Linked DNA regions of Homo sapiens: regions 1, 2, 3 and 5 are each linked to region 4. Evidence: promoter capture Hi-C in 16 types of primary human blood cells and fetal thymus (Javierre and others, 2016). All regions are on one chromosome and are shown on one strand. Each heading gives the region's core, a stretch centred on a gene start or on the middle of the fragment in contact. The rest is flanking DNA. Distances are from core to core; before and after follow the strand shown.

Region 1 (5,179 bases), core at 40-2,539, 260 kb after region 4:
AAGTGAAAGTGTAAGTATGGAAGAATGAGACCCATGGTTACTGCCCCAGCTGTCCTCTTAGGACACTGGCATCCAACGTGATGCACTCAGGTGTTCAGAAGATTCCATGCCGGGGCCTACAAACATCGAAGACAAAGGACTCGCAGATGTTACATTGGCCAAATCCCCCATAGCAAAGCTTGGCAGCTAAGAAAGCCTGCCCATGCACACGGCACACGGCACTGCCAGCCAGCATCCTGTGTCTTGCTCTTACATGTGAATGGATAGGCAAAAATTAGCAGAAAACTGAGGAAAGCTCAACATGCAGGACAGAGACCACACCCCCACAACACACACACATATAAGCAAGCAAATTCTAAAAAGTCTGGAAAACAACATTCAGAGAAGAAAACAAAAACTGCCATTAATATTCTTAGAGAAATATTATAAGATTGGCAAAACTTAAAGCATCAGCATTACCAAGTATTAGTTGGGATATGGGAAAAGGAACTTTCCCAACCTACTGGTGAGAGCATAAACCACTGCAGCCCTTTTCAAGAGCAATTTGGCAGTAGAGTCATCCCTCAGTATCCAAGGAGAATTGTTTCCAGCACCCCCACCCCAGCCCCCATAGATTCTCAAATCCACACACGCAGAAGTCCCTTACATAATAACATGGTGTATTTGCATATAGCCTATGCACATCCTCCCATATATTTAAAATCATCTCTAGATTACTTGCAATACTTAATACAATGTAGGTGCTGTGTAAATAGTCGTTACACTGGATTGGTTTTCTATTACCATTATTTTTTGTTGTATTGTTATTTTTATTTTTTTCAAATATTTGTGCTCTGTGGTTGGTTGACTCCAAGGATGTGGAACCCGAGAATACAGAGGGCCAACTGTGCATGATAGAGCTGAAGACTTAGGAACTCTATGACCCAGCCCATTTCACTTATAGAAATCCAGGTACAGGGAGACTTTCCACAAGGAGACTGTAGAAAGGTTTTTTTTTTTTTTTACTGTACTGTTTGTAAATATTGAAAAGGAGGGAACAACTGTCAACAGTAGGGGGATGGATAAATAATTTAAGATATAGAGTGGAATATTATATAGCTGTTAAAATTAATGAAATTTATTTACATAATATGGATATCTAAAAAAAGTTGGATAAAAATTGCAGACTATAATATATATGTAAATTTTAGTACCTATAAAATATATATATTATTTGAGAATAATAGTAATAAGGGCTAACATAAATAATAACAGTTTGATACAGAGGCTATTATTACCATTTTACAGTTGAGGAAACTGAAGGACAGAGAGGCTAAGTAATCTGCCCAAGCCCACATAGCTAGTATGTAAGTAGTGAAAGGACAAAAAGTTCTTGGGAATATTAACAATCTTCATAGGAAAGAAGCAGGATGACACGAAAACACGAGACTTTATTTGTAACTTTATTTTTTAGAGATAGGATCTGGCTCTGTCATCACCCAGGATGGAGTGCAGTGGCAAGATCATAGCTCACTGCAGCCTCAAACTCCTGGGTTGAAGTGATCCTCTCAACTCAGCCTCCCAAGTAGCTGGGACAGTAGGCATGTGCCACTCAGTCTCGCTCATTTTTTCTCTTTTTTGTAGAGCCTGAGTCTCACTACTTTATATAGGCTGTTCTTGAACTCCTTGACTCAAATGATCCTTCTGACTTGGCCTCTCAAAGTGCTGGGATTACAGGTGTGAGGCACTGTGCCCAGCCTTTTTTCTGTTTTGTTTTTTTTTCTTAAGAGACATCTGGAGCAGTTGTGGCCAATCTGGATGTCTGTTACATTATCATGTTTTTAAAGACTTTTTCTTTTTAAGAGCAGTTTTAGATTCACAGCAAAATTGAGCAGAAGGTACGGAGAGTCCCAGCTAGCCCTGCCTGCACACATGCACAGCCACCTGCATTATTCACATCCCCGACGGAGTGGTACATTGTTGTGATCAGTGCACCTACATTGGCACATCGGTATCACTCAAAGTCCACTGTACGGTTCCCTCTTGCTGTTGGACATTCTGTGGGTTTTGACACGTTTAATAAATGTAACCACTGTCGTAGTTTTCTGCCCTAAACATTCTTGTGCCCCACCTATTTATTTCCCTCACAACCCTAACCCCTGGCAGCCGCTGATTTTTTTACTGTCTCCGTAGTTTTGCCTTTTCTAGGAGGTCATATAGTTGACATCATATAATATGTAGCCTTTTCAAGGAAAAGTTGGCTTCTTTCCCTTAGCACTGTGCATTTAACTTCCCTCTGTGTCTTTTCATAGCTCATCTCCTTTTATCACTGAACAGTATTTCATTGTCAGGACATACTACATTTTAAACTTCATATGTTTAAATATTGTATAACTTTTAATGATTAAAACTGTAAGCTTGGGAACTCTCAGCCCACGGCTGACTACCCAAGGGCCACAGGGCTAATATATAGCCATAGATTCTGTGAATCATTGTGTGTATTTTTCACTGGCCTTCCACTAAGCACCCTCTCATTTACCGTTCTGCATGTACTTTATCAGACACATAGTGTCTTCCTGCCTGTGATGCTGGGCCTGAGGTGTGCAAGGGGCAACACTGTGACCTTAGAAAGGTAGTGCTCTGAACCAGAGCGAATTCAAAGGGCTGTCCCTTCACCGACTGCATATCAGGTCTTCAGAGCTGTGCTTCTAGCTCAGGGCAGGCATTTGGAAGGAAGATTTTGGAATCTTGCCTGAACATATTCATAATATGTTTTTCTTAGGTTGGGTGTTTTGCTGGGAATTTTGGTGTTATTTCCTTCAACACTGTTGTCATCTATGACTCAGAATTTAACTACTTGTGCTTTTTTGTGTGTGGCTTTTATGCTGCAGGAAATCACAGTGAATCCTCTTATCTGCATTCTTGGAGGCAGGGCATCTGATAAATTAATATTTTTGTTAATGCTGCTATGTGACCCATATGCACAGTGCTTTCAAAGAGTTCACAAAGTTGAATCTGGGGGTTTACAGTTGGAAGGATATAATTTATACACCTTCCCCATTTTAAAAATGAAGAAATTGAGGCTCAGAGACTGGAATAACATGTGCAAGACTACACAGCTCATTGCCCATGGAGTTGGGGGTAGAAAAATGGGCTCCCTTTTCCCTATGTGTGTTTACTGCATCACAGAGAACAATAAAATAAAAAGAAATCTATGATTTCTTGATTGAATTTCATTGGTTGATTGATAAGACTCCTCAATAGGGCTTTATAGGTCTAAACCTCCACTTTGGATTGCCGTATTTGTGATATGTACTCAGAACACTAGCTCTGAAGCTTTTTAATGCTTTACGTTAAATAAAAGAAGCTCCTGAGGTGAAAGTTGGTGGTTTATAATATTATAGAGGTGTTTATACACCTGCCTTAGTTGTGTAAATATAGATACCACTGGGATCCTAGGTTTTCTTCATTTTCACTCAAAGGGAAAGCCTCTACCCTGATGCTCTAGAATTGGATCAGAGGCATATGTGTTATTTTTAAGCTTACAGGCCTTACTCCCATTGGGTGGGGGTTATTGGCAAGAGGAGTTTGATCATTTTCATTTAAGAAATTTAGGATCGCTCTGTCTTGTGTTTTTACAACAGTCCTAATCTGAAGTGGTTGGGTGACAGAAACTTCTAAGTGGGTAGGTGCTACACTTAGTTATATGATTTTTTTCCTCATAGCACTCCCAATTCATATTCCTTAGTGGCCCATTTTTAATTACTTTGCTGGAAAGGCAAATCGATATTTTCTGCCAGAACTCTTAATGATTTTCATTAATATTAGGATTTCAACCTTACATATATATAATACTTGTAAACAAGTGCAGCATTCCCTGTGACCAGAGAAGGTAGAAAAGCCTTACTTGAAATGGTTCCATAGAATCAAGTTTAGTAAACGTGGGTATTTATTTTGACTTAAGGCTTGCTTCCAGAAAATACCTAATACAACAAAGGAATCATTAACAAACTACCTATAAAACATGATCATATGTAAAATGAGAGAGTACCTTAATTTTGCTTTTATAACATGATTTATCTTGCAGTGTGTGAACTTAAATCTCCCTCCATGAGTGATTTCCTGTGGGGTCTGGAGAACTCTGGCTGGTTAAGGCACATTAAAGCCATAATGGATGCAGGAATCTTCATTGCAAAGGTATGCAATTGCAGAGAAAATAAATTAAGGGACAGATGAGCAAACCACTGACTTCAAAATGGGTATCCCTCTGCCATGGGCTTCCCTGTCTTAAGCTGCACTGCACTGACTGGATAGCCAGCTTTGTAGAGCTCCGTAGTCTGTGCGCTGAAGATATGATTTTGCGAAAGAATACAATGCTTAGCTGATAGTGTGTCAGCACTGTGATCAAATGGTAAAATATTTCCAGAGTATTCTCTTCCATTAGGCTTAATCCTGGATGGAGGAAAGAATTTTCTGTAGAATACAACCAAATGTGAGTTACTTCAGTGATGGGGCTTGGGGCTTACATCCAGTAGAGCCTTCTTTTTAGTCATGGCATAAGCAAAAGTCATGTTCCTGTAGCTGGAAGGTAGAGTCCATTCCGCCATAGGAAAATGTCGCTGCAGCTTTCACATAAGCTGTTTTAGAATGCAATGTCTTTTGTGTTGTTCAGTTTTTTTTAAAGAAATAAATACCTTGGATTTATACCTAAAGAGAACCATATCTTCCCTGATGCCATGGTATGTTCCCTGTTTTGAGGTAATCATTTATTCAAGAAATCTTTATTTAGTGCCAGGTACTATTCTAGATTTTACAGATGTGATGTGAATAAGGCAGATCAAGTCTCTTCCCTCACAGAGCTTATATTCTGCTGGGGGAGACAGAGAATTTTTTTTTTTTTTTTTTTTTTTTTTTGAGAGGGAGTCTCGCTCTGTCACCCAGGCTGGAGTGCAGTGGCACGATCTCAGCTTGCTGCAACCTCTGCCTCCCAGGTTCAAGCGATTCTTCTGTCTCAGCCTCCCAAGTAGCTGGAATTACTGGCACGCGCCACTATGCCTGGCTAATTTTTGTATTTTTAGTAGAGACGGGGTTTCACCATGTTGGTCAGGCTGGTCACGGACTCCTGACCTCAGGTGATCCACCCGCCACGGCCTCCCAAAGTGCTGGGATTACATGCGTGAGCCACTGCCTCCAGCTGAGA
Region 2 (5,182 bases), core at 787-3,286, 350 kb before region 4:
TACTGCATAAACCATTCTAGTAATTAATAATTAGGAATGACAGGGCCTTTCCGAACAAAGATATACCGGCAGGCCAAAGCAGCACGCCGAAAAGCAGAGCAAACAGGGCGGTGAACCCAGAAAGTTTGTTTACTAAGCAGAGAGGATCCTCAGTCATGCACTGTAACTGTGACAGCAGTGTCCACCATAAAGTCTTCTCCAACTCTAATACAAAGGATAATACAGATAATAATGTCAAATTACCTGTTTAGAAACTAGTTTTTGCAGCTCAGAAACTGCTCCTTTCCCGCTCCACACTTCAAAGCTGTTTCCTAATTAGGATTAAAAATATGTATCACTTAAGTAAATTACTTACGCTATGAAATACAGAATAAAAAATACTTCAGTTTTGGTCTAAAGTATGTTTAGAAAGATCAAAAGAAGGGGAAAAATATAACTTATTCATATTTTAAATTTAAGTTACCTCAATTCTTTTGGAAAATAGTGTGATATGCATAAATGCTTAAATCCCCTAAACTTCTGAAATCTTACCAAACAGCAAAGTGATATCTATTTCGGAACAGTGTAACAAAGATGGTTAGCCCTAACTATCCTTTAATAGTCTATGCCAAAGTTTACTCCTCTGATTGATCGAGCTTCCTGTTACTCAAACTATGTAACAACCTCGTATATCCGATGATTTTAAAAATGTTTGCTCATTTAAAAGCTACTGTACTTCATAATAAAATAACCTCGTCACTACATAAATACCAGGTTTACCTTCAATTCAAAAACTCTGTATTATATTGGTGTTCAGGGGTCCTCACCAGGAAGGTGCTAGGGAAAGAAAGGAGCAGGTGCACCCGAGGCTCTGCAACACCCACTCCGGTAACCAGAGAACACCAGCAGGCGGAGTCTGGAAAGCGGTTATGGGGCGGGGGTGGTAGGGGCGCCCAGAAAGCCCGCTCCTTCCAGCGCCCAAACACGAACCGTCACCCGTAAGACACACAATACAGACCTCAACTCGCTCAAAAAAACAAAACAAAACAAAAAAAATTAAACCAGGCGAGTTCCTGGGGAGTAGGCTGAGGGATGCAAAGTTGGCGCGCCCAGCCTCCCTGGCGGGGCCTAATCCCCAAACGCCAGTTTCTGTAAACCAAACAACGTTTCCCCCAGTCCCACTTGGCATTTAGTCTTTCCCGGTTCTAGGCCCAATTCTAACTAGATAGGTAGGAAGGGAGAAAGAAGGGGCAATAATTACTCCATTAACCTTCCCAGGAACGCCTCCCCCGGCCCATCGGCTCCCACAGCACCAGAGACGGCGGAAATCCTGCAGCTCACAGCCCAACTGCAACTCTTCAGAGTCGCGTCGCTCCTCATCCGCCCTTCTACACCCCAAACTCTGGACACCGAGAGTTCCACAGAGGGAACGCGGGGAAGAACTATGGCCACCAAGGCCTGTTTCTCTAAGAACTCGACCCAGTGCCCCTAGCACCCAAACCAGAGTCCCCGCTCCGCTTCCTCCGCCCGCAAGGGGTATAGCCGGAGCCACCGGGACGCAGAACAGCCTCCCCGACAGGGCCAGCAGGAGGGGCGAGGAGGCAAGAAGGGAGTCCTGCAATCACCAACGCGTCGCGAGGTGCTCACCCGGGGATCCCGGCGATCAGTCCTGAGGGAGCGGGCGGACTGACCGCCTAGGGCACGGGAAGCCCGGGGCAGGAAGACCCGGGAACCTACAGAGGAGGCGTGGGCCCGTGGCCAGACCCAACAGGGCCGAGTGTCCCGGAGCCGTTACTCTCCCGCCTCTGGGGCGCGCCGCCCTAGGTTGCCAAGGGCTGGGGACGCGCAGGCATTACCTCTACAAGAAGCAGCCTCTCCTGTCAAAGGCAGAGCGACAGTCAGCCCCCACGACCCGCCGCCGGCAGCGGTCGGCCCTCGGAGACCGCAGCAGAGAGGCCCACACGTTTCCTGGCTGCCTCGGCCCCAGTGGCCGCCTTTTCGACCTCAGCTACGCAGCGCCAACCGCCGCAGCCACCGCCATCTTAGGATCTCATTGTGGTGGGAGAAGAGGGGCGGGGGTACTGCAGAGGGGGCAACGCGCGGCGGGACATGCGCCGTCTCCTCGGCAACGGCCGCGCGGGGGCGAGAACTCGCCCGGGCGGGAGCCGCAATGCGAGCTAGACTGGAGTCATGTGACCCGCCGGAGTCTGTGGTGTCGCTTCTGGCTCTTTAAGCCGAAAAGAGATTACACCAACGAATCCGCCCCCACCCGCCCAGGAACTATGTATCCCAGAATGCCAACTAGACCTCGCGTTCTAAACGCCTGCCGGCCACAGGTGGAGGACTACAAATCCCAGCATGCCGTGCGCTTCCGGCGCTGATCGCGGAGCGTGGGGCCCTAGGCCTATGCGGAAGTGCATTGATCCCTCAGCCCGTGGAGAAAGAGCGGAGGCGCTGTGCGGTTTTCCGTGGGGGTGTCAGCTCCGGCCCGTGCCGGAAGAAGGAGCCAAGACCGGGATCGCTTTTTTGCCCCTTCCTCACCCCACATTCGGTCACGAAGAGGTGGAAACAAAAGGACACTTACAATGTAGTCCAACCTCCTGATTTTACATATGAGGGGATTGTTCCACGGAAGTTAAACAATTTGCCAGACGTCATTATGTATCTACTGAGTGAGAGAATCATAAATATTGTTGATAGTTAACGCCACTTTTGGTTAATGTCCCTTTTCCTTAAAAGAGCCAGATGATTTTAATCCAAACTTAATTTCAGTAAATTTTCTCTGAACTATCTTTTTATTTATACTCTCCTGTTACAGCTCTATTAAGATTAATAAATTGGCAGGTCCTCCCTTTAAAAAACAAAAATCAATAAAGTCACAAGGCCTTCAATGTGCCTGACTGGAAAGGTAAAACACCTGTCAGTTTTAGTTGAGTGCAAGGGCATTCTTCTAGTTTTACGCAGTTTATAATTATGGAATAACTTTTTAAGCAAAATAAAGGTAAAAAGAAGAATTGCATTCTGGGTTTCAACAACAAAAACAAATTGTTCCCAAAATAGTAGGTCTGCATCTCAGTACGCAATTCACATAAAGCTCTTCTATCCCACTGCAATCTGCCACCGTAGGTTCAGTCGTGAGTGCATTGATCGTTGGTCAGACACTTTTTCCTCATATTCTGTGTGTGTATCGCTAACTACTGCGGTAGCAAAAATATAGTCCCTGCCCTTGAAGAGCTCATATTTTAGTGAAGGATGCGGAAGTGGAGTGTGATGTAAATAAAGTTTGTGTTGTAAGAAAAAGTGCTGTGGGAGCTCAGAACACAGCAGCTAAACGCTCAGGTGTTTATTGTAGTCCAGAATGCCCTATCCTAATTCCACCACTCCAAGATCCTGGACAAGCGACGTGCCTTTCTGAGCCTTAATTGCCCCATCTATGAAATGAGGGGGAAGGAATGATACTGCCTACCTTGAAAGGATTTTTTAAAAAATGTTCTCAGAGTTTGTTTTATGCCAGGCACACTGTAAAGCACTTCGGCTGTTGTGATTTTCTTGATCCTCACAGTTACCCTGAAGAGGCTGGTTCTGAATCTGACCCGTTTTGGCAATGAAAGATTATATAAATCAAACTTGTAGCAGCTGCAAGTGGTAGAGCCTAAATTTAAACGGAGGTCTATGTGATTCCTTTAAGATTTTTTTTAATTAAATACAACGCATATAAAAACACTAGTATATGTTGAGGCCCGAAATATTAGCTATCATCATTATTTTGCTTTATACATATGTATTATTATTAAACGTATGTAGAAGCTGTTATCATTAAAACAATTCTAATAAATTCAAAAGCGTGAAATTATAATACGTACTAGTCATTATGTTTTCTGAATTTATGAAGCTCCAGAATGTCAATACTATTGTTTATTAGGAGGTAGGAGGAATTTGAGAAATATTTACATTGAAATGTAGAAGCTGTTATCATTAAAACAATTCTAATAAATTCAAAAGCATGAAATTATAATATCTACTAGTCATGATGTTTTCTGAATTTATGAAGCCCCAGAATGTCAATACTATTGTTTGTTGGGAGGTAAGAGGAATTTGAGAAATATTTACATTGAAAAGGGGATCTCAAACTCAAATATGAGCATTACTGATCTTTGTAAGGGAAGAAGGAAAGAAAAAAAACAAGAAGCGATAAAATTATACCTGGCTTTCAGAAATTTAACATCTATTTTTAGAAACAAACTTTATCAGAATGAATCGACTTAGTGTTAATAGTCCGTCACTATGCCAAACAAATGATGTAGACACTGATTGCTGTGGTAATTTAGATTTTTAAAATAGGGATGTTTTGTCTCAGAGATAATGATAGCTCTAGGATTTATAGGTAGGATGAAATTAGGGGCAGCAGTCTGTGGAAATGTAGATAGGAAACAGAAGAATGGCCTCTAAGAGATAAACATTGAAACTGCCTTTCAGTTTTCCACATTCAAGAGAACAACCTAACACATGTATTAAATATGCAGGGGGTGGAAGTTCCAAATTGCAGAATGATGTTCAAGGAAGTGGGATATACCAAGAACACAGATCACACATCCAGAGTAAGCAATGGACAAAAAACAGACTGGCTGAAGTAGAGGATTTATATATGGTAAGTGATGGGGAGGTGGGAGAAGGCAAGGTTTATTACCAGGTTGGGGCCAAACTATAGAAAGTCAACTACTTATCTAAAGAGTGTGGACTTTGTTCTTCAGTTAGTGTGAAACCATTTGAGACTTTGGAAGAGGTCAATGCTGTAATGAAATGGTTATTTGAAGACTTCAATCTAGTGGCAATGTTTTGTAAAGACTAGGAAAAGAAGACAAGGAGAACAGGTGCCAACCTGTCATGAAGTAATGAAGGCTTGGCCTAAGGTAGTAGCAGGATGAATAAAGTAAGGGATTTAAATTTTTATTCACATAAACTAAATCAGTTGTTATGATGTGAAAATACTATTTCTGTTTCTTGATATTTGGTAGGACACTAACCAGGTGGTACTTATAAGATAACACAGCCGGGCACGGTGGCTCATGCCTGTAATCCCAGCACTTTGGGAGGCCGAGGCGCGTGGATCATGATGTCAGGAGTTCGAGACCAGCCTGACCAACATAGTGAAACCCCGTCTCTACTAAAAATACAAAAATTAGCCGGGTGTGATGGCATGTGA
Region 3 (5,351 bases), core at 158-2,657, 310 kb before region 4:
CTGTAAGTTTCCTGGGGCCTCCCCAGTCATGGCAAACTGTGAGTCAATTAAACCTTTTTCCTTTATAAATTACCCAGTCTCAGGCAGATCTTTACTGGGTAAATTTATAAAATGAGAATGGACTAAGACAGTAGGGGACAGCTGTTATTTTATATGTGGTAGTCAGGGAAGGTATCTCTGGGAAGGGAATACCTGAGCAAAGACCTGAAGGATGTCATGGAGCAAACCACAGAGATTTTCAGAAGAGCATTCCAGGTAGAGAGAACAGCAAGTGCAATCGCCCTGAGAAGTCTGTGTATTTCAGGGTTTTCCAAAAATGCCAAAGAGGCCAATGTAGCCAGAACAGGCAAAAATGATGGGAAAAGAGATGTGTTGAGGAGGTGGATGCTCACAGATTATGTAAAGCTTTGTCGGTGAATGACCAAATATCCCGGTTTGCCCAGGAAAGGCTCAGTATAGAATGTTGTCTCATTGTAATTCTAAAAAATTGTTTGGAATCTTCCATTGGTAGCTTGGGCCAGACATTAGCAATAGAGGTGGTGAGAAATGATTGGATGTTGTATAAATTTTGAACGTAGAGTCTTTCCTTAGGAAAGTTACTTTGCTTCACTATTTGAGCTTCCTTTAGTAAAAAGTAAACATAATGTGTCTTCTAAAGACATCGTGAGATTTCATGTGTTGATGATGTATTAGCAATTTTGTAAACATATTTTAAATGGCACACATTAATGTATTAACATGGGAGGCAGCATTGATATAAAAACAGGTTCTTGCCAATTTGTTCTCTCTCTGATCAAGTAAGCTGCAAACAGTATATTTTGAACCTATTTTTTTGGTATTCATTGTAGTATAAATGGTTATAATGATTTTCAAGTGTGTTCTTCCTATCTAAACAATATGCATTAATTTGAAACAATGAAATTGCCATTTTTCTAAGTCAGAAATGTTCAAACATCTGCCATTTCTTATAGTTCAACATAATACAGTAAGAAAGGATTAACCAGGCAATAAAGAAAGAGGTTCAGGAGATTTGGGAGATATTCCCAGGGGATATCCCCAGAGGCTGAATGGTCCTGGAGAAATCATAAGCATCCTTGTGCTTGTTTTCTTATTTTCACTGTGAGGCTAATGAAATAAAATAAAATGGCCAATTAAAATTTGATAGTGTTTTGATAGTGTTGTTGTTGTTTGAGGTGGAGTGTCGCTCTGTCACCCAGGCTTAACTACAGTGAGACAATCTCAGCTCACTGCAACCTCCGCCTCCCAGGTTCAAGTGATTCTCATGCTTCAGCCTCCCGAGTAGCTGGGATTACAGGTGTGCACCACCACACCTGGCTAATTTTTGTATTTTTAGTAGCGATGGAGTTTTATCATGTTGGCCAGGCTGGTCTTGAACTCCTGGCCTCTGGCGATCCTCCCACTTCGTCCTCCCAAAGTGCTGAGATTACAGGCGTAAGCCACCACGCCCAGCCAAAGTTCGGCAGAGTGTTTAGTGATGCCCAAACACAAACACAATATGGTTTCAGATGAGTATTCCTTATTTTTCCAATCCACGTTAGACTTGGGGAAATAGCCCTTGTCCCCTTGATGATGGGCCCTTTAATGTAAGTAATATTGCAGCCTTGCAGAGGTACATTCTACTTGAATGGCTAGCTCATTTTTATATAATGCCCCAGGCCACGCAGGCTGCTTGGCATCTTTGTGGAACTACGCTTACTGTCCCATCAAGCCTGTTTAGCAATTATTGTGTGTCATTATTAAAATATTATTCTCTTATTGTGAAGAAAAGATACTAAAGCATGCTGTAGGTCAGTCATTTTCTAGTGACAGGGATTAGAGGACTAGAATCCATTCAATTTTTAAAACTTTACCTACGAATAGTTAGAAAATATATGCTTGAAATAATCTCATTCTAGTTTATTGTTATTGTTTATTTTCTAAGCCTTCTTTACAAATATATTTTCCCACTGTAATTCAGTTTAAATGGATGGTTTTTACTTCTTAATAAAATTATTGACTATTGATTTATATCTGATACAATCCTTTGTAGTATTCAATGCTGATGTTGAAAAAATTCAGCCACAATGAATAAGGAGTGTTCCCAAGGACCCTCAGACAAAAAAAGAAAAACAAAAGAAAACATGAAACTACCCCCAGGATCGGAATGAAAATGTATTTGCTCCTAACATCAGATGTCTTCGGTTTAGAATACTTATTTCAACTTGAAATTTTCTTAATTTGTAGACATAATCTTGACATCTGGGAATAAGAGATTTAGGACACTACTGCATTGCAAATGATGACTCTTTAGTGCAGTCAATGTTTTTATCTTAAAGAAAATGATTTTACCTTTCATGACAATAATAAATGTGACCTAGAAAAGTGTTCCTTAAATAATTCCAAGCTTATTATATTAATTAGCGAATATTAATTGATAGCAAACCTAATCATCTTTTCTTCTAATTTGGTCACGACTTCTGTTCCTTTGCAATCCTATTCTCACCCCATTTTATCTTTTATAAAAATACACAGAGGGTGTCTCTTTTTCACATTGGTAAATGTTTTAAATATCAGAAAGTTAATTTTCTCTATTTTTAACATAAGCAAATATTTTAATATAATCAATTATATTTAATACATTACATATAAAAACATCTACTATTTCTATTACTGGGCCTAAGATTACTATTTCTATCACTGGGCCTAAGACTACTATTTCTATCACTGGGCCTAAGATAGGTACATACTCAATATACAATTGAATTTTAAAGAAAAAATATTTACTAAGATAAAATAAAGAGTGAAATGCCAGAGTTCTTATAAATTGTTGCTACAAATTATATCATATGTTTAAAAGGATAACTTTAATGGAAAAATGGGTCTAGAGATACTTTTTTTTTTTTTTGAGATGGAGTCTCGCACTGTCACCTGGGCTGGAGTGCAGTGGCGTGATCTCGGCTCACTGCAACCTCCACCTCCCAGGTTCAAGCAATTCTCCTGCCTCAGCCTCCCAATTTGCTGGGATTACAGGCACCCACCACCACACCTAGCTAATTTTTTGTATTTTTATAGAGACAGGGTTTCACTATGTTGGCCATGCTGGCCTCAGTGATCCGCCCGCCTCGGCCTCTCGAAGTGCTGGGATTACAGGTGTGAGCCAACACGCCCGGCCCATCTTGGTTATTTTGTTCACAGTGTTGGGTGAAAGGGTTAAGTCATGACTAATTGCTATCATATGAATTTCTGCCCAGTGTTGTAATACAGAAATTTGGTGTTTCTCTTTAGACCATTTGATGTGGACAGAGAATGAAATGTAAAATATGCCTCTCTTCAGAAAGAAGACTTACGTTGAAAGAAATAAGCAGAATAGTGTGCCTATACCTTTTATACCTCTCCCAGGTGCATGAAGGAGGCTTCCCAACTGGTGGGATTCTTTGGAGAGCGATCAGTCAAGGAAAAGCCTCCTTTGATGGAGAATCCTCCAATGTCAGTCTCTGAAGATCTTTTCGGTGAAGCTCTGCTGTTCCTCCAGCGAGGAATCCTATGTTCTTTGGCCTGGAAAGTGGTAGGAAGAGTGTAGAGCCGGTTGCCTGGCTGCAAGAGAAGAAGCCTGGGAAAGCCTCACCCTTTTTGAACAGGGTCTCTCTCCTCCCCTCCAGCACTTCTGCTGTCATGTCACCTGGAGCATCTCTGGGCAATCTTAATAGAAAGTAAATCTTCCATATTCTGAAAGGGTACGAGAAGCAGCATTCACCTGGCTGCACAGGATTTAGATGAGGATCTGACTGTTAGCCCATTTGCCTCTACCTTCACTTCCAAGCTAGCAGTGCCTCCAATCCAGAATCCCCTAGGGTGCTACACTGTGACTTCTCTCGCTTCTCATGGTGCTCCTCTCTACTGCTGCTTTGCCAATTCCCCTACTTCTCTTCTCTCCTCTCCTCTCCTCTCCTCTCCTCTCTTCTCCTCTCATTTCGTTTCTTTCTAGACAGGGACTCACTCTGTCACCCAGGCTGGAGTGCATTGGCACGATCTCGGCTCACTGCAACCTCCATCTCCCGGGTTCAAGCAATTCTCCTGCCTCAGCCTCCCGAGTGGCTGGGAGTACAGGCGCCCACCACCACGCCTGGCTAATTTTTGTATTTTTAGTAGAGACAGGGTTTCGCCATGTTGACCAGGCTGGTCTCGAGCTCCTGACCTCGAGTGATCTGCCCACCTCGACCTCCCAAAGTGCTGGGATTACAGGCGTGAGCCACCGCACCAGGCCCCCCACATGCCTTTTTATCATCTACCAACTTGCTGACATTGCACACTAGCTGTTCTTTCCCTTTCTCTTTGACTTTGTCAGTTCGCATCTTTTAAACTTTTTCTTCACTCATTTTCTAGTGGGCTTTGTGAGAAGGAAAAAATTAAATTCATGTGTTCAATCAAACCAAAAGTCCCCAACTCCTTCTTAACTCTTACCTTCAAAACTATACTTAGCCCATTGTTTTCCAGTAAAAGAGGAAAGTATGTCAGTATAAACAGACTGTAGTTTAAAGCAAGGAAATTACATTTTTCCCTCTGAGAACGATTTTGCCTCCTGAGGAATAATTCCGTAGAAGCAACAACAGTTATTGGGGTCACCACAAGAATTAAATGCTAGGGATACCAAAATTAGCAAGGTGTGACCTTTGCTTTCAAAAATCTTACTCTAGGCAGTGGCTCACGCCTGTAATCCCAGCACTTTGGGAGGCCAAGGCGGGAGGATCACTCAAGCCCAGGAGTTTGAGACCAGCCTCACAACATAGGGAGAAAAAGACACAAGCTCCATAAGCAGAGACCAGCGTGCAGATTTTGACTACGCCACTTCCTTGATGTGTAACATTAAATAACTGATTAAAATGCTCCTGTGCCTTTCCACAGCATAACACAAACAGCACATTAGGATAGCGAAAAGAACCAGAGTCCTTCCTCTGTTTTTGTGATGAAACAGATTCAATTCTAGTTAACACTCAGTGTCATTCTGTGTGGTGAGAGGCTGGGAAAGTCTGGGAGAATTTCCTCGGCGACTCTAAGATTAGGGATGGCCTGCGGCTGCATCCGACTTCCTGGAGCTACTGAAGTCTGAACTCTGGTCTCATGAAAAATTCAAGGTTGATACATTTATAAAATTCTTTTTGTTCTTGCAGTTTTTTCAAGGGGGAACATGGCAAAGGTGTTCAGTTTCATCCTTGTTACCACCGCTCTGACAATGGGCAGGGAAATTTCGGTAAGCTTCTTGGGAAAACTATTGTCATATTTATAATGCCTGCTTTTATCTGAATTTTCTTTCATTTTGCATTAAACCTATAGTGACTTGTCATTGAAAAAAC
Region 4 (5,299 bases), core at 576-3,075:
TTTTTAGTAGAGACGGGGTTTCACCATCTTGGCCAGGCTGGTCTTGAACTCCTGACCTTGTGATCCACCTGCCTTGGCCTCCCAAAGTGCTGGGATTACAGGCATGAGCCACTGTGCCCGGCCAGATGTGTGTACTTTTATAAACAAAATCTTCGTGCTATTATCACCTAAAATTTATGAACTATTTCTTACATTCAGTCTGTATTCCACTTTCTCCAATTGTCTCATAAATGCTTATTGTTTGTATGGATTACACTTAAAGAAAGGGTAAATTTAGTCAGATGTTTGTAATAAACTCACATGGGCTGGGTGAGATCCAGGAGGCAGAATGGAAGTCAATTTCTGAGCCTCTAAGACTGGCAAGTTGGGTATAAACAAAGGAATGGCTGATTTGAAATTATTTTGCCTGGCCATCTCCTGCCCTATTCAAAAAATGATACTACAAATTACATTTCTGCCTTTTCAGCGGTTGCACACAAGGGCCTGCCAGGAGCATTTTAATATTGCATTTTACAAACTGAACTCATGGCAACTTCTCTCTGGGCAGAGTTAAGTGTTACTCTCCCAGTAGAAGCTCTGCCTACGTTTTATTAAGCAAAGCTCTAGGCTGAAGGACCCTCATGCTCAACTTCAAGTACCACGACTATCTTGGATTTTGCAAACTACAATGCGGTATTTTTTTGGCAAATGTAGTTTCCTAGGAAAGAAAGGAACTGGTCAGGATGAACGAGTGGATAAAAATGTGAGCCAGGTCGAGCTGGCTCCAGCATGAAGTTGCATAACAGCAAAAGCTACTTTTCCACTAAATCTAAGCAAAAATTGTGTTGTAGCCCAGGAATTTCAAGAGAGGGTTGAGGACACCAGGAGGCACCCAGATGAAACATGTACTGTACAAATAACACCCATGGAGTGAATAGAGCAAACAAAACATTTAAATGCTAACAATAATATATAATACACACCACAGTAATACACACACCCAGACACACAGAAAAATAACACCAGACCCTGTGGTCACGGGTGTACACGACAGGGTGGACCCAGGACAGGTACACATTCAAAAACGCGCAGCGGTCATGGTCCCATAAGCTGTACCAAAAAAATGCATTTTCTTCACCATTTCCCATCCAATTAGATAAATATAATAAGCCGTGGGCTTTTGATTCGTTTTGAAGTTTCATACACTGACATTTTTGTTCGAAGATCTAGGCAGATCTTGCAGGATTCAAGCAAAAGGTGGTAGACGAAAACACGCCCAGAACTGCGAGGGGAGGGGGAGGTCACCTGGAACTCTGCAACCGAATCAGCGATTGCCGAGCTTAGGTGGCACTCGCTCTCAGCAGCAGAGGTCCCAGCCACGCCGCTGGGAGGTGGAAGCGATCCGAGGCTCCCGCCCCACCTCCCAGACCGACACGTTGACACTGGGGGCTGGACCAGGCGCTGGCTGGGGATGCTTGGTTCGCCCGGAGATGGGGACTTGGAGAGGTCCTGGTGGGCTCCTAAGGGTCGGGGTAGCTGCCACCACCCCTAGAGGGCTCTCCGGGCAGGCAAAGAGTGGGAGGAAAGGAGACCCCACCAGGAGGGGGCAGGTGCACCGGGCAGGCAGTGGCGCGGGGGCTGAGCCACCGAGGGCCGAACGTTAGACCAAGAGCTGGCAGGAGGGCGGCGGGGGCTTCGGGTCCCGGCTAAAGTCAGGGCACAAGCTAGGTGGCCCCGCGCCCAGAGTCACTCACCATCCTCCAGCGCTTCGTGCACCAGCAGAAGACCAAGCAGCAGCCAGACCTTCATCTCGGGAACCTCGGACCTCGGAGCGCAGGAGCGCGGCGGCTGCGCGGGGCGGGGACGCAGGGGAGGCGGCGGGCGAGGGGCGGGCTCCTGGGACGCCGAAGCGGGAGGATTCGGTTTCTTCAGGAGGAACAAGGTTTGGGGGAAAAAGTTGGGGAATTTTTTTTTTTTTTAGTTCTCTGTGTAATGTGACTTCTCCTGCCCCCTGGCGGAGCCGCGGTGCGCAGCACTTCTTCCCAGCGCGGGGAGGAAAGGCTAAGCGTGAAATGTACATTACAACAGCCATTCCTTGAATTTCTCCAACGCTTGGCGTTTTCACCAAGGTTATCAAGTTCAAGAAGGATCAGCGGGTGCTGATGGGGTCACTTTTAACCACGATTGTCCAAATGTTACCAGCGCCCGCCCCACCTCCTCAGGCAGAACCTGAGTGCTCTGTAAAAAGTGCTTCCTAAATTATTTCTGTTCATTCCATTTCTCTCCCCCACATGCACTCACTCACAGGACCGTTGCCCCGGGTTCTTGCTGCTCCTCTGTGTCTGGCCAGAGTTGGTCTCCGCACCCAGCCCTGTAACTGCTGGTGGGGGTGGGAGGACGGGTTCATTACAGGAATAACGTGGAAAATGAGACTGTGCAGACAACCCGGGCCTCTGGTGGTGAGGCAGGAGAACAGGGAATTAGGGTAAGCACGGGCTAGGGTATGAGCAGGAGAACAGCAGGTGCAGCCAGTTCGCAGAAGCAAAAGATCAGCAGGTGCAGACAGTTCTAGGCATGATTAGGCGGCACACAGGCCACATCCTCGCTCCTCTGATAACAAGGCAGAAGTTTCCACTTCAGCCTCGGACTGGTCGCAGGCCAGTCCTTCGTAAGGTGTAACCAGTTGGAGGCCTCTAAAGGGAACCCAAGGGTGTTGCCAAGTTCTTTTCGCTTTATAAAATCCCTGGGGAGCGTCAGGCTCTTGTGGCTTGCTGCAGCGCCCTCTGTGAATTGTCTTCTATAAATCTACGTTTTCCTTCCTCCCTTCTGTTGCTTTGTTTTTCCTTGCTTCTTTCTTTCGTTACTCCGTGCATTTCGTTCAATTTTTTGTTCAACAGGCCAAGAACCTGGACAACTCTATCAGGTAACAGTGGGGCAGAAGATACGGGCTTTCACAAGTCCCTCTGCAGAGAGCCATCCTGCGTTTCTGAGCTTGCAGACTCTCATGATCAAAGCAGTTTGCTAGCGGGGGAGATGCCTGTGTGTGTTCCCCCGGTGAGAAGCAGCCCATCTCATTGTAATCTTCAGCACCAGGCACTGCTATTAAAGGGAGCTCAATTCTAAATAACAGGAAAGGGACTTGTCCCTCAACACCCAACGAAAGAAGTGCTGCCATTTATAACAAACTAATGCTTCTCAGTCACTTCTGCAGGAGGAACCAAGAATTCTATATTCTGTTGCCAGCTCTAGCCGGAGCTTTGCCACTCGCTTGCCTTGCGATGCAGAGAGCAGTTGGCTGGGAATAAAGACCAGAGTTCAGATGCTGACACTGGCACAAACTCTCCATGCCTCTCAGAATTCACTTAACCTTCTGGGTTTTAGCATCTCTTGTTTATTAAGAAAGGGAACTAGGTGATTATTTCAACAGGAGTTTGCTATGTGATTAACATTACGGCTATGAAGGTTGAGACATCATCTCTCATGGCTACTTTTAAGGAGTGAACAAGCATTTAGACCACTGCAATGTGGTGTGTCAGGTTCTGGGGAGAATTCTGAGCAAAGGACTTGGAGCATGCACACAGGAGAGAGTAAATCTGCCTAAATTGCCCCACCGTGAGATTTCTTTTCATTCTGACCCCATGAATTGACTGCTTAACTCTCACTCCATGTTGGAGCCTGGGGTTGGGTCTAGATTCCTCCTCTCGGTCGCAGTATCCCCTCCATGCTGACTATGCATGTGCCAGGTCCACCTCTCTTGTGCCATTATTGTCAAGCTTCACTGCCCTGGCTCAGCTACATTTAGCCGAGAGTCGTCCCTCTTTCTCTTGCCGCTTAGAGGCTCTTCTTGGGGGGCTGAGGCGAGAGAGTCATTTGAGCCTGGGAAGCGAGGTTGCAGTGAGCTGAGATGGCACCACTGCACTCCAGCCTGGGCGACAGAGAGAGACTGTCTCAAAATAAATAAATAATAAATAAATAAATAAAAGCAAAGAAGAGAGGCCTCAGAGAATACCCATTCTTCTGCCACCTTGCTCTCAGATTTCTGCCATTCAGAACTATAAGAGAATACATTTCTGTTCTTTAAACCACGCACTCTGTGGTTCTTTGCTATGGTAGCCCCAGCAAATTAATACAGGGGTCTGTATTAAGATGGGAACAGAATTCATAAGAAGTATAAGGGCTTCCCAAGACACGTAGCTATTTCATCACAAGGCTTATTATCCTTGAATGAGACAATCTCAAGATGATTTTAAATTTGAAAACAAAAACTGCCAAAGCTGTATTTTTCACAGGTCTTATTTCACTATAAAAATCCACGTGCTTTGTCTCTAGGGTGAGAAAGAATTTTATTATTAGAATGTCGTGTTGATCTTTTCCATTCCTTCTCCAACAATTACTATAATGTTAGCCAATTAAAATAAACATTATCTTGCAGCTCTAAATCAAATACAACTTGAAGCCTGCTTTCCCAAGGCCTGATTTTTTTTTTTTGTATGTTTAGCTTGTATCTGGTCACCTTAATGGACCTTCTTAGTAGCTTAAATAGTTTTCAGTTGATCTCTTGGGTTTTTAGATAAACGATCACATTACCTGTAACACCCACTTTTCTTTCTTCTCTTTTCTTTGAGATAAGTCTCACTCTGTTGCTTAGGCTGGAGTACACTGGCATGATCACAGCTCACTGCAACCTCCACCTCTCCGGCTCAAGCAATTCTCCTGCCTCAGCCTCCTGAGTAGCTGGGACTACAGGTGTGCGCCACCATGTCTGACTAATTTTTGTATTTTTAGTAGAGATGGGTTTTCGCTGTGTTGGCCAGGCTGGTCTCAAACTCCTGACCTCAAGTGATCCTCCTGCCTCAGCCTCCCCAAGTGCTGGGATTACAGGTGTCAGCCACCGTGCCTGGCCATTTTCATTATCTATTTTAATTAACGGTAGCTTTCTATGCTTACCCATGAAATCTCCCTACTCCATTGCCTTCCGTGCTTTTTATTTGCCCCTTTGAAGTGGTGAATACCATTAGGAATTTGTTAGGTAAGAAAAAATCAGCCAATATTTTGGGCATCCCTTCTCCATCCCCAAGATAAGGACACGTAACTTCTCTAACTAGTCTTCGTTAACTACAGACATACAACCAAGATGATTTTTTCACAAAAATCTATCAGGGGAATCCGCCCCCAATATTTCAACGTAGGTTCTTTTTATTTTCCTTAAGTGTCGGCCGGCTGAGAAATAAAGAGAAAGAGTACAAAGAGAGGAATTTTACAGCTGGGCCGCCAGGAGTGACATCATACATTGGTAGGACCGTGATGCCCACCTGAGCCT
Region 5 (5,232 bases), core at 499-2,998, 290 kb before region 4:
TGCATAATAAATTATGAATGCAATTGGCAAAACACATGACAAAATCCAGCAAATAATGGATTGCCGAATCAACCGCAGAGACAATAAATATTATGAGTTGGGATTTGAACTCAGGTTTTGGATTACAGAGTGGAAACTTTTAAGCACAACCCAGGATCTTAATCACTACAAAACGCTACTCGTATTTTTAGGAAGTTTATGTAGGTTATACACTTCTCTCACAGGGCTCATTTTAATTCTTATGCCAATCCTGTGAGGTTATTATTATGTCCATTTAACAGAGCTGAGAATCAGTGGGTCTGAGTTTTTGTGACTGCTCCAAGTTACAAAGTAGGGGAACAAGGCCTCAAATCCAAGTCTTCTGATGCTAAATCAAATATCTTGCCACCATCCTATAGCTTCTTCTGGGTAGAACTTGGATTGGTGCAGAATAGGGAGAGAACGTTTCAAATGAGAGTAAAAGATACTCCAAAAGGCTGGGCACGGTGGCTCACGCCTGTAATCCCAGCACTCTGGGAGGCTGAGGCAGGTGGACCACTTGAGGCCAGGAGTCTGAGACCAGCCTGGCCAACATGATGAAAACCCATCTCTACTAAAAATACAAAAATTAGCTGGGCGTGGTGGTGTGAGCCTGTAATCCCAGCTACTCGGGAGGCTGAGGCAGGAGAATTGCTTAAACCCAGGAAGCAGAGGTTGTAGTGAGCTGAGATCGTGCCAACCTGCACTCCGACCTGGCCAACAAAGCGAGAAGCCATCTCAAGAAAAAAAAAAAAAAAGATACTCTAAAAAATATTTGTGTGTCAACTGTGTGTCAGGCACAGAGGATACAGTTAAAGCCCACACGGAGCTTAGTTTTTTGGTAAACACATACACTAATCATAGAATCACAAAATATACATAATTATAAAAGCTGATATGTATGAAGTAAAGATATGTGCCTGGGGAATGTTTACCAGGAGGATCTGACCTGGCTTTGGGGTAGGAGATCAGAAAAGCTTCCCAGAACAACTGACTTTTTGAGCTGAGACCTTTTAAGAAGGTGTACGTGGGGAGATATTGCAGGCAGAGGGAATCATGTGTGTTAAGTACACAGAGCAGGAAAGTGCTTGGGAACAAAAGCTTAGAAAGCCAATATAGTTGAGTGATCCTTAAATCCTTAAGCCAAGGATTCTGCCACTTAATGGCTATGTGACGTTGGGTAGGCAACTTAACTTCTCTGAGCCCTAGCTATCTCATCTACAAGGTAACGATTACAATAGTACCTGCCTCATAGGGGTGCTTTGAGAATTATAAAACTATAGCACTTGGCATAGTGCCTCGCACAAAGTAAGCATTCAATAAGAACTAGGTGTGTTGACTTGTGAAGTAGGCATTAAGGGACAGTAATGATATAGAGGCCCTTGAAATCATAGGCCACATAAGGATATTAAGGTTAGTTGTACTTTATTCTCTAAATCAGTGTTTCCCAAGCGGCACTTCTCAGTCTTTAGTGTCATACAAACCAACTGAAGATCCTGTTAAAATGTAACTCTGCTTCCAGGATGGGGCCTAATATTTGGGTTTTCTAAGAAGTTTCCAGACAATGCAGATACTGCTGGTCTAGAAATTACACTTTGAAAAGCAAAAAGCTAGAGAGCCATAGTTCTGTGAGACATTGGTAGTTCAGTACAGAAAGAAGAAAAGGGCTGCCTGATCAAATAAATTTAGGAGATGACAAATTCAGCAGAATTCCACAGGTTTCTTCTCTTGGGAATTTCTCAGTTCTCTAATTTTTCTAATGTGCGTTCTGAAGCTCCAAGAAGGACATATAGTATGTAGCATTTTTATATCTAATTAAGAGTATGTTCTGGTGCGAGGTATAAATTGCCTGACTACGGAAGTCCAAACAAATAAAGATTTCTTCATCTTACGTAGTGAGAACTCAGGAGGTAAGTGGTTGCTGACCTATGTTCAGTGCAGCGTGGAGGCTGATGACCCTGCAATTCATTTAGCCCATCCTTCAAAATTGCAAATTATCTACCACGGTTCCTGCTTTGAGTTCGTGTTGAAAGCAGTAAGAAAAGCGAAGGGTCAACAGACTTCAGTTATGCCTTGTTGGTCAGAATTGTATCATATGTTCACTCTGTCTGGAAGTATGATCAGGAGAAAGAATATTTATTTTTATGATCTCTGTAGAATGTGCAGGCAAAGGAGAAATGTTTGCCAGGGTTCTTGATTGTTTTTCAATGTGGTCTTGTGGGAACAGTGTTCCATAAAACACACGTTGGTAAGCTATAAATAATGGATCATCAGTGACAATTTTAAATATGGGCTTAATTGCTCAAGTAGTAGCCTGAAGAACTCACACAATTAGGAGATCAAAAGAAGAAAAGCTTTTAAAGGAGAAAAAAAATGATTCCACAGAGAAGTGGGAGGGGAGCTAAACAAATTATGGCGTCAAACCTCAGTATGATAGTTTTTCAATGCAGAAGGAGTGATTTTAAAAATTTAAAATGCCATAAAATAATGGAAGAGAAGTTCTAATGAAATATCTTCGGACTTAGTGATAATGCTATTTGTGTTATTAAATCCGTTTCAGTGGAATGGTAGGGAGCTCTAGGCCAGGAAATAAAAGCAGTTAGAGAGAATAGATTGGGGCCTGGAGCAGTGGCTCACGCTTGTAATCCCAACACTTTGGGAAGCCTAGGTGGGTGGATCACTTGAGGTCAGGAGTTTGAGACCAGCCTGGTCAACATGGTGAAACCCAATCTCTACTAAAAATACAAAAATTAGCTGGGCATCATGATGCATACCTGTAGTCCCAGCTACTCGGGAGGCTGAGGCAGAAGAATCGCTTGAACTGGGGAGGTGGAGGTTGCAGGGAGCCGAGACTGTGCCACTACACTCCAGCCTGGGCGACAGAGTGAGAGACTCATCCAAAAAATAAAAAAGAGAGAGAATAGAGATTGGTCATTTGAGGAGTTTGGATGTAAAATAGGGAAACTGGACTGATTTTTTCTGAATTAGGAAGACCCCAGCCTAAAATAAATGTCTCTGAAATTTCACCATTAGTGAGCTATTTATTAGACTTTATCACTTTTTGAAATGCAAAATGCTTTTAATTTGTATCAGCTGATTCCACTTTAAGGTCAACAAACTCGTGAGTGTTTTGAATTTTTTTTTTTTTGATAGAGCAAAGTGTAGAGAAAGTGCAAGAAGCATGAACAGAGAATCCACTGGATTAGAAACTCTTTATTTTAGAGGCTGCATTCATCTTGTTGACAGTTTTATCTCCAGCTCTCCGCACAGTGTCTGACACATGACAGGATCTCGAATGTTCGTTGACTGACTGATTGAGGAAATAAGTAAAAAAAGAAACCATATAATGAATGTAAAGTGTATAGTTCATAGAAGAGTGCTACTTCATTTGATATTACAGAACTTATGGCCACTGGTTATTTCTATGAATATCAAAATATTGGATCCTACAAAATCAGTGTCTAAAAATAGTATCAAATTTAAGATCCCAGATACTTACTTTTGCTTTTTCTTTCCTCATTGCTAGTAAAGAATTTACAAGGGCCAGGCGCAGTGGCTCACGCCTGTAATCCCAGTACTTTGGGAGGCCAAGGCGGTCGGATCACCTGAGGTCAGGAGTTCGAGACCAGCCTGGTCAACATGGTGAAACCCCGTCTCTACTAAAAATACAAAAATTAGCCCGGTGTGGTGGCACACGCTTGTAATCCCAGCTGCTCGGGGGGCTGAGGCAGGAGAATCACTTGAACCCGGGAGGTGGAGGTTGCAGTGAGCCGAGATTGTGCCATTGCACTCCAGCTTGGGTGACAGCGTAAGACTCTACCTCAAAAAAAAAAAAAAAAAGAAAAAAAGAATTGACACATGAAGATATCCTATATAATCTTATGCACATAGCAAAGTTTTTGTTGGTATTTTATCAGGACTATGAAAAGTAAGTTATATCCTCATTGATACTTAAAAAAGATATACATATCTCATATATATGTGGAAAAAATCTGCATTTTATGTGATAGTGGTTACCTCAGGGGACTGGGCTTGGAGACGCAATGAAAGGACACTCCTTTTTATATTTCCTACCATTTAATGTTGTGAAATGTTTTATCATATGTGCATAGTACATATTTAAGAATAATACTTTTTATATAAACAAAGTGAATAAAATAGGTTGTTCGTCCTAAAGAAACAAATCAAATAACATTAAGGACATGAGTGTATCTGGTATATTACATGTAGGTTTGGCAATTTAGTTCATTTCAAAAACAAAAACAAAAGTCCTGAAGCTAAATTGCTATCAAGCTGCGCTGTGAATACAGCAGCCACCAATCACATGTGACTCCTGCTTACTTGAAATAAGGCTAGTCCTTATTCAGATGAGCTATAAGTATAAAATACACAATGGATTTTGAAGACATAGTATCCCAGAAAAAGAGAAAATACCTCCACAAATAAGAATAATTTTTATGTTGATTACATTGTTAAATAATACTTTGGATGGATGAGGCTAAATAAAATATATTACTAAAACTAATTAGATCTCTGTATTTGTACTTTTTAAATGCCATTATTAGACACTTTACAATTATATATATTGGCCAGACGCGGTGGCTCATGCCTGTAAACTCAACACTTTGGGAGGCCGAGGTAGCCGGACCACTTGAGGTCAGGAGTTTGAGACCAGCCTGGTCAACATAGCAAAAACCCGTCTGTACTAAAAACACAAAAATTAGCAGGGTGTGGTGGGGCACACCTATAACTCTGAGACCCTGAGGCATGAGAATCGCTTGAACCTGGGAGGTGGAGGTTGCAGTGGGCTGAGACCATGCCATTGCACACCAGCCTGAATGACAGAGCAAGACAGCCTCAAAAAAAAAAGAAAAGAAAAAAAAGAAAGACAGAAATTTTAAAATTACATATATTGCTCTCATTACCAGCTTGTCTTATATTTTTATTTGAACAGTAATGCCAAAGAATTTTCATCTAACCTGTATACAGCGTGCCTACAATCTGCATAGATAGTATATGTCTGTTTAGATGTGACTATTGAGTGAATTAATGTTTTTAAAAAACTAGATATACTTTTCTTTTTAAAAAATATATCCAGGCTGGGTGCAGTGGCTCACGCCTGTAATCCCAGCATTTTGGGAGGCTGACACAGCTGGATCACCTGAGGTCAGGAGTTCTAAACCAGCCTGGCCAACATGGCAAAACCCCGTCTCC

What was found. Contacts are between HindIII fragments. The CHiCAGO score rates a contact against its expected background, and 5 or more counts as called.
Region 1: a fragment that was not itself captured here is called in contact with the fragment with the promoter of PDGFRL in region 4 in 1 of 17 cell types (endothelial precursors); the score reaches 6.1 in endothelial precursors.
Region 2: the fragment with the promoter of PCM1 here is called in contact with the fragment with the promoter of PDGFRL in region 4 in 7 of 17 cell types (naive CD8 T cells, total CD8 T cells, activated CD4 T cells and 4 more); the score reaches 9.5 in naive CD8 T cells.
Region 3: a fragment that was not itself captured here is called in contact with the fragment with the promoter of PDGFRL in region 4 in 1 of 17 cell types (total CD4 T cells); the score reaches 5.1 in total CD4 T cells.
Region 5: a fragment that was not itself captured here is called in contact with the fragment with the promoter of PDGFRL in region 4 in 1 of 17 cell types (endothelial precursors); the score reaches 6.6 in endothelial precursors.

What each region holds. Positions count from the first base shown.
Region 1 is chr8:17,312,289-17,317,467 of GRCh38, reverse strand. It overlaps MTMR7 (myotubularin related protein 7), which reads left to right. Exons shown (of 14, transcript NM_004686.5): 8 at 4,067-4,176. It also overlaps a transcript of VPS37A not described here. Among named protein-coding and RNA genes, the nearest start is that of VPS37A, 68 kb to the right of the region's middle. The HindIII fragment of the contact is 2,218 bases long and covers 181-2,398 here.
Region 2 is chr8:17,919,842-17,925,023 of GRCh38, reverse strand. It overlaps PCM1 (pericentriolar material 1), which reads right to left and starts at 2,036. Exons shown (of 39, transcript NM_006197.4): 1 at 1,836-2,036; 2 at 244-311. It overlaps LOC124901867, which reads left to right and starts at 37. Exons shown (of 4, transcript XM_047422505.1): 1 at 37-110; 2 at 797-867; 3 at 1,258-1,515; 4 at 1,678-3,996. The coding sequence starts at 37. The coding sequence ends at 2,360. RefSeq lists enhancers at 1,009-1,068, 2,219-2,668 and silencers at 1,530-1,824, 4,550-4,844. The HindIII fragment of the contact is 6,694 bases long and covers 1-5,182 here.
Region 3 is chr8:17,885,389-17,890,739 of GRCh38, reverse strand. It overlaps FGL1 (fibrinogen like 1), which reads left to right. Exons shown (of 8, transcript NM_004467.4): 2 at 5,169-5,248. The coding sequence starts at 5,186. Among named protein-coding and RNA genes, the nearest start is that of FGL1, 7.5 kb to the left of the region's middle. The HindIII fragment of the contact is 1,999 bases long and covers 408-2,406 here.
Region 4 is chr8:17,573,742-17,579,040 of GRCh38, reverse strand. PDGFRL (platelet derived growth factor receptor like) reads right to left here and starts at 1,825. Exons shown (of 6, transcript NM_001372073.1): 1 at 1,734-1,825. The coding sequence starts at 1,788. RefSeq lists silencers at 1,420-1,469, 1,560-1,619. The HindIII fragment of the contact is 7,010 bases long and covers 1-3,754 here.
Region 5 is chr8:17,859,054-17,864,285 of GRCh38, reverse strand. It overlaps LOC124901893 (a long non-coding RNA gene), which reads right to left and starts at 3,818. Exons shown (of 2, transcript XR_007060835.1): 1 at 3,518-3,818; 2 at 3,217-3,328. The HindIII fragment of the contact is 1,253 bases long and covers 1,122-2,374 here.